Regions from separate parts of the Homo sapiens genome. Here region 1 is linked to region 2. The links are contacts of gene promoters, found by promoter capture Hi-C in blood cells and fetal thymus (Javierre and others, 2016). All regions are on one chromosome and are shown on one strand. Each heading gives the region's core, a stretch centred on a gene start or on the middle of the fragment in contact. The rest is flanking DNA. Distances are from core to core; before and after follow the strand shown.

Region 1 (3,943 bases), core at 22-2,521, 300 kb before region 2:
GCCCATCTCTTGTAGGTGGGAGGGAAACTTGGTGGGATATTGGGGGCTGAGCTGTGCTTCTCTGGTCCTTTGCCCACCAGCCATCGTGGGTCCTCGCCTCACACATGCTGTTCCACAACTTGGAACAGTCTTCTTCCAGAGGCCTCAAAAGCCCCCAACCTTCAGTCTCACCCACCCACTCCCTTGTCCCTACTTGGACCTCCAGAATGCAGGGTGGCCCAAGCTGATCACCACCAGAGGGCAGTAGTGATCTGCAAACCAAGTCACATTCCCTAGGGTTTTGTGGATCTGGCGCACCTGCCCGCACCCCACACCTTTCCAGCTTCCTACAACCTTTTGGAGCAGCATCCTGGATGGACTATATCTCCCCACCCTATGGCCAGCGCTGCCCCCAAACAGATTTTTTTTTTTTTTTTTTTTTGAGAGTCCAGCTATCACCCAGGCTGGAGTGCGGTGGTGGAATCTCGGATCACTACAACCTCCACCTCCCAGGTTCAAGTGATTCTCCTGCCTCAGCCTCCTGCTGGGATTATAGGCACCCGCCACCACACTCGGCTAATTTTTTGTGTTTTTAGTAGACATGGGGTTTCACCATATTGGCCACACTAGTCTTGAACTCCTGACCTCAGGTGATCCTCCCACTTTGGCCTCCCAAAGTGCTGGGATTACAGGTGTGAGCCGCTGCACTTGGCCCCACCCCCCCAAACATTCTTGATTCTGACCACTGCCTTTTGTCCCTATGGCCTTCAGGTCCCCATCGCCTCTGGCTCTAATTCCTGCCCCAGCCTCCTCCTCATTCCCCACTACAAGTCAGCCCCTGAACAGGCAGCAGCCAGAGGGTACCTGTGAACACCCAGGTCAGGGCATGTCCCACCTCTGCTCAAAAGCCTCGCAGGACTCCCCTCCCTGGGAGCAGAAGCCGAAGTCCTCCCTGCAACTGACCAGGCCCCCAGCACCATCTGCCTGTTGCCTCGCTGCCCTGTTGTCCCCAACTCCATGCTGGCCCTTGAGCACTTGAAATTTCTCTTCGTGTGGCTTTGGGTGATGCGCTGAGCCTCAGTGTCCCTGCTCTTAGGGCTAACGTCGTCGCGCTAGTGCCCTCCTCAGGCCGTAGTGAGGGGGACAAGTGAGGTAATGGTTCAGACAACTGGCACCTGGCACTCAGATTCTCTGAACGGGGACCTTGGCACTTGCTGGCCGTCTTCAAAAGTCACAAAATATTTCTGCCACAGGAAAAGTCTTAAAGAAGAGTGCACGGCCAGGCGTGGCTCACACCTGTAATCCCAACACTTTGGGAGACTGAGGCAGGAGGATCACTTGAGCCCAGGAGTTCAAGACCAGCCTGGCTAACATGGTGAAACCCAGTCTGCACTAAAAACACAAAAATTAGCCAGGTATGGTGGCACGTGCCTGTAGTCCCAGCTACTCAGGAAGCTGAGGCAGGAGAACTGCTTGAACCTGAGAGGTGGAGGTTGCAGTGAGCCAGGATCACGCCACTGCGCTCCAACCTGGGTGACAAAGACTTATCTCAAAAACAACAACAACAACAAAAAAAAAAAACAGTGCTGGGCGCAGTGGGGCGCACCTGTAGTTACAGATACTTGGGAGGCTAAGGCAGGAGGATTGCTTGAGCCCGGGAGGTCAAGGCTGCAGTGAGCTAAGATCAAAGTACAATAAATACCCAGGTTCACATCAGTTTAAGACATGAAATACCTCCGATCCAGTAGACTTATGCCTACCTCTCCTGGGGGACATCATCTCTGAGGGGACTGCTTGTCACTCAGACCACAGATCAATGCCACTTCTCTGAGGCCCTCCTTGACCTACTTTAATTCCCCTCATGCTCAGCCACCAAACCTGCCTCACATGCCTTTCTTCACACAGACCTGTGTATTGTCACCTCCCATGTACTGTGGGTGCCACCAGAGCACGGACTTTTTCTTGCAACATACACAGTGCCAGAAAGGGGACCTTCAGGAAACATTTGCAAAAGCATTGGATAAAAACCCCTGGAATGCTGTTGTGCCCAAGCCGATCACCACCAGGGGGCAGGAGTGAGCTGCAAATCTAGTAACTTTCCTTAGTGTTTTGTATGAGTGAGAACGACAGGTAGGAGCTGCAGGGGGACTCCTGGAACCCTGATTGAGCCTCAGACACCTTCCAAGATCTTTTTATTTATTTATTTTTCAGAGACAGGGTTCTCTCCATGTTGTTCAGGCTGGATTTGAACAGAGCTGAAGCAGTCTGCTCGCCTCAGCTTCCCAAAGTGTTGGGACTACAGGCCAGTGTGCCCTGCCGAGTAAAAATTTTAATTTTTGAGCGGGGCGCGGTGGCTTACGCCTGTAATCCCAGCACTTTGGGAGGCCGAGGAGGGCGGGTCACAAGGTCAGGAGTCCGCGACCAGCCTGACCAACATGGTGGAACCCCGTCTGTACAAAAAATACAAAACTTAGCCAGGCGTGGTGGCACGTGCCTGTAATCCCAGCTACTCGGGAAGCTGAGGCAGGAGAATCGCTTGAACCCGGGAGGCAGAGGTTGCAGTGAGCCAAGATCGCGCCACTGCACTCCAGCCTGGACAACAGAGTGAGACTCCGTCTCAAAAATAATAATAATAATAATAATTTTTGTTCATCATACACATTTTGGTGTTAATTTCAGTTTTTCAAAATACTGCATTCCTTGTTATTGAAGATTTTGTTTGTATTTTGTGAGACTGAGTCTCACTCTGTCGCCCAGGCTGGAGTGCAGTCGCATGATCTCGGGCTCACTGCAACCTCTGCCTCCCAGTTTCAAGGGATTCTCCCTCCTCAGCCTCCCAAGTAGCTGGGATTACAGGCGCACTCCACCACACCTGGCTTTTTTTTTTTTTTTTTTTTGAGACAGAGTCTCACTCTGTCGCCCAGGCTGGAGTGCAGTGGCATGATCTCGGCTCACTGCAAGCTCCACCTCCGGGGTTCACGCCATTCTCCTGCCTCAGCCTCCCGAGTAGCTGGGACTACAGGCGCCCGCCACCACACCCGGCTAATTTTTTGTATTTTTAGTAGACACGGGGTTTCACCGTGGTCTCGATCTCCTGATCTCGTGATCTGCCCTCCTCGGCCTCCCAAAGTGCTGGGATTACAGGTGTGAGCCACTGTGCCCGGCCCTTTTTTTTTTTTTTTTTTTTTTTTTTTGTGAGATGGAGTCTTGCTCTGTCGCCCAGGCTGGAGTGCAGTGGCCTGATCTCAGCTCACTGCAAGCTCTGCCTCCCGAGCTCACGCCATTCTCCTGCCTCAGCCTCCTGAGTAGCTGGGACTACAGGCGTCTGGCACCACGCCCGGCTAATTTTTATGTATTTTTAGTAGAGACGGGGTTTCGCTGTGTTAGCCAGGATGGGTTTGATTTCCTGACCTCATGATCCACCTGCCTCAGCCTCCCAAAGTACTGGGATTACAGGCGTGAGCTACCGCACCCGGCCTAATTTTTGTATTTTTTGTAGACACAGGGTTTCACTATGTTGGCCAGGTTGGTCTCAAACTCCTGACCTCAAGAGGACTGCCCGCCTTGGCCTTCCGAAGTGCTGGGATTACACACATGAGCCACCATGTGTGGCCCCCCCCTTTTTTTTTTTTAAGAGATGGGATCTGGCTCTGTCACCCAGGCTGGAGTGCAGTGGCACAATCATAGCTCACTGCAGCCTCTAACCTCTGGGCTCAAGTGATTCTCCTGCCTCAACCTCCTGAGTAGCTCAAATTACAGCCAAGAGACACACACTGCATCTGGCTATCCACCACCAGTCCTTTTATTTATTTTTTTTTTGAGACCGAGTCTTGCTCTGTTGCCCAAGCTTAAATGCAGTGGCACGATCTCGGCTCACTGCAACCTCCATCTCCCAGGTTCAAGCGATTCTCCTGCCTCAGCCTCCTGTACAGGCATGCACCACCACACCTGGCTAATGAAGTGT
Region 2 (3,857 bases), core at 702-3,201:
TTTTTTTGAGACAGAGTTTCGCTCTTGTTGCCCAGGCTGGAGTGCAATGGTGTGATCTCAGCTCACTGCAACCTCCGCCTCCTGGGTTCAAGTGATTCTCCTGCCTCAGCCTCCCGAGTAGCTGGGATTACAGGCATGCGCCACCATGCCCAGCTAATTTTGTATTTTTTAGTAGAGACGGGTTTCTCCATGTTGGTCAGGCTGGTCTCAAACTCCCGACCTCAGGTGATCCGCCCGCCTCGGCCTCCCAAAATGTTGGGATTGCAGGCGTGAGCCACCGCGCCTGGCCTATTATACTCTTTAACAGCCCTACACTAAGCCTTTCAGGCAGGCTAAATCCACAGCGTTCCCATCACCAAAGCTGTCAAAGAAGCAAAGTAGCCATGATGCACCTGTGCTTCAAAGCCATTCATTCATTCATTCATTCATTCATTCATTCATTCATTCAACACAAGGGTTCCATTCCCCTGCCTCTCTCTCCTCCCCAATCCTCTGCTCATCCTAGCCTTTCTAGAGACTGCCACTAACAACCCTTCCCCACCTCCCAGCCTTTGCTTATGCCATTCCCTCCCCCACCCCAAGACCCCTGCCTTTCTTTCCCTTTCCCCTCCCAGGGCTCACTCCTCCCCATCCTTTAAGACTTGGTACCTCCTCCTCCAGTAAGCCTTCTCTGACCTCTGCGCCCCCGCTATGATGGCAATAATCCTGGCTCCTTTCATTGCTTAGTTTCATGGCTCTCTCCCCCATTGAATACAATCAGCACATAATGAGCGCCTACTGTTTGCAGGCTCCCTGGCCGGACAAATGATGGAGAGGTGAAAAAGTGAGATTGGGTGATGAGTTATGGACCGACAATGCCTGGTCCCTCCTGTTTCAGAGGGGGGTCAGTCACCATGAACGGGTCGGGTCCCCCCTCTTGCTCTCCCTCCCGTGACCCGGTCCTTTGCGAGGGGAGGGGATAGGTTACCTGGGCATCCAGATCGTTACTTAGTTCTTGGCCATCTTTTTGCTTTACCCCTGCGGGGGAGAGTGCATATAAGGGAAGGGCCCTTGAAGGGTCTGTGGGAGTTCCAGGCCACCCAGAGCCGCGACGCAGAGCCTCCCCAAGGCTGGGACCTCCGGGGGAGGTGATCTCAACGCCTCTCCCTAGACCACGCCCCCTCGGCGCTCCCACGCGCGGTCCCCGCACCAGGCCCGGGACCCCTGCAGCCTCACCGTACACGATGGAGCGCCCCACTCCCGTGTGGTCGCTGCCGAATTTCCTCATCAGAGCCCCCGCCTTCTTGGAGGATACCTTCCCATGAAACTTCTCCCGGAGGCGCCGGACGCTCTTCTCCAGCTGGGATGGAGACAGGGGGGTTCCGGTGGGGGAAGGGGAAACGGGATCATCCCTCCCCCATCTCTAGGCACCGTTCTCCCGGCCCGAACTTGACCCTTGGTTTTGGCCTCCGCCGCCCCCCCCCCGCCTTTCATCCCTTTACGGCATTTCCTGGAAAAAGCCAAAGTCCCCACAGGGCGTTGGGGGAAGGCGCGGACTGGGGCGAGCGTCCCAGCCTAAGGTGTGGGGGGGCGGCCAGGTTATCTCTGGCCTCTGACCTTTGACCCTGCAGCCCCCGCTTTTCCTCGGGGAGGCCTCATTTCGCTCTGGGGAAACGTGGGAGTCACTTTCCTTTTCAAGGGGGGCGAGCGCCAGGCAGGGGTAAGGATCTGGGGTTCTAGGATGGGGGTCCCCAGGAACTGCGAAGCCCCCTCCGCGCCTCCCGGCCGCTCCTCGGGGTCTGTCGCGGCTGACCCCGGCCCAGCCGTAGCCATCGCTTACCTCCACACCTTCCTGAGACATGGTGGCGGCGGCGCAGTTCCCCGCGAGGGTCCGCACTGCGCGGCTCAGCCGCCCCCCTACCTGGGTGCGCCCGTCGGTCCAGCAGCCGCGCAGGGCAGGGGGCGGTGCCTCGGGGCCGGCTCCGCCCTTCCTCCCCGGCCCCTGTTTCGCTTTCGATTCAGGGGGGACCCGGCGCGCTGGCTCCGCCCTGGCTCCGCCTCTGCTCTTGCGCCCCAAACCCAGGCGGGCGCCCCGGGTCTGCACCCTGCGGCGGAGCGCGCAGACCTCGGACGGGGGAGGCGGCGCGGCCTCTGCAGTCGGTCACATGTCCCCACGCTGCGCGGGGTCCGCGTCTTCACGTCCCTCGTGGGGGCGGGGCCGCATCAGAAGGCCGCGGCGAGGCCCCGCGCCCCCCCACCCAGCGCGCGCTCCCCCAGTTCATCACCCTCCTCTCTGTTCTCCCTCCTTCCCCGGGAATCTGGCGCTCATGAGGACCTGGGCCCTTTTCCTGCCCTGAGTCTCTGTCCTAGCTACGGTCACCTCTCTCAACCTCAGTTTACCCCTCTGTGAAATGGGGAGAATCCTGGTGTCTACACCATGGAGTGGAGTATGTGCCAAGATTCCCGAGTGGATCGCGTAATAGCGCCTGGCTTGCAGTAGGCGTTCAACTAGTCACTGGGCCACCTGCTGTGTGCCCTTGATAGGGGCAGGCAGTGTGTGTGTGGTTGGGGGGAGCGGTGCTTGAGAAAAATACAGATTCTTGGTCTCTAGTAGCCCGGTAGAATCCGGCTGTCTCAGGGATCCAGGGAATCTGCAATGGTTAAGAACCCCGTGGGACGGACAATTCTAACCCAGTACAGGGCACATCAGGGAGCCCTTAGGTGGTGGGGCTCTGGCCCAGCCTGGGGACACAGAGATGGCAACTTCATTGGAGGAGGGGATGCTTTGTAGAGTCACTGAAATTGGAGGTCTTAGCTAGGGGAGGAATAGAGTGGGGAGATGAGGCAGCCGTGCAGAGCCCCCAAAGCAAGACTAAGTCTGGGGTTTTTGGGCAATGGCTTCTCAAGCCCAGCACTCTTGACACTTTGGGCGGCCTAGTTCTTTGTGTGGGGGACTGTCCTGTGTATTGGGGGACATTTAACACCATCCCTGGCCTCCACCCACTAGATGCCAGTGGTTCCCTACTCTCCCTGTTGTGACTACCAAAAACGTCTCCAGAGACTGCCGGATACTCTCTGAGGAGCAAAATAGCATTGTGTTCAACGACTCCAAATTTTTTTCTCCATTGCACACCCCTATAGGTAAAAGTGTTAAAGTTACACCCCCAGATGGATATTTATTCATTTATTTATTTTTTGAGACAAGATCTTGCTCTGTTGCCCAGGCTGGAGTGCAGTGGTTTGATGGTGGCTCACTGCAGCCTCTAACTCCTGGGCTCAAACGATCCTCCTGCCTCAGCCTGCTAAGTAGCTGGGACTACTGGCATATGCCACTATGCCTGGTTAATTTTCTATTTTTTTTGTAGAGACGGGGTCTCACTATGTTGCCCAGGCTGGTCTCAAACTCCTGGCCTCAAAGATGGATATTATTTATAAATTATATACAAATACAATTATATCAATATATTCTGTTAACTGTTATATAAAATATTGATAGATAAATGGAGCTGGGCATGATGGTTCACACCTGTAATGCTAGCACTTTGGGAGGTCAAGGTGGGAGAATCACTGGAGGTCAGGAGTTCAAAACCAGCCTGGGCAACATAGCAAGACCTTGTCTTTAAAAAAAGAAAAAAGAAAAGGAAAAAGTTATTTTTAAAAGACTAAAAAACAAACAATAAAACCCCCCAAATCTAGATATTCTAAAGTTTTTCCAGTTGAACCCCAAAGCTTTGTTTATAGGGTGTATGTACTCCACTCTGGAGACTACTGTATTTGCAAACTACAAGCAGTTCATGATTCCTTGTGGCTGAATGGTGGAATCCTAGGCAGGATGGGGGCTGGAAACTGCACAGAAGACCTGGGATTTTATCCTGAGG

Evidence for each region. Contacts are between HindIII fragments. The CHiCAGO score rates a contact against its expected background, and 5 or more counts as called.
Region 1: a contact is called between a fragment that was not itself captured here and the fragment with the promoter of SHFL in region 2, in 1 of 17 cell types (neutrophils). The highest score is 6.2, in neutrophils.

What each region holds. Positions count from the first base shown.
Region 1 is chr19:10,387,161-10,391,103 of GRCh38, reverse strand. No RefSeq gene overlaps it. Among named protein-coding and RNA genes, the nearest start is that of TYK2, 8.6 kb to the right of the region's middle. RefSeq lists enhancers at 2,210-2,269, 1,849-2,349. The HindIII fragment of the contact is 5,115 bases long and covers 1-3,828 here.
Region 2 is chr19:10,084,411-10,088,267 of GRCh38, reverse strand. It overlaps SHFL (shiftless antiviral inhibitor of ribosomal frameshifting), which reads right to left and starts at 1,951. Exons shown (of 8, transcript NM_018381.4): 1 at 1,820-1,951; 2 at 1,216-1,339; 3 at 968-1,017. The coding sequence starts at 1,840. RefSeq lists silencers at 1,683-1,962, 2,033-2,252. The HindIII fragment of the contact is 8,670 bases long and covers 1-3,710 here.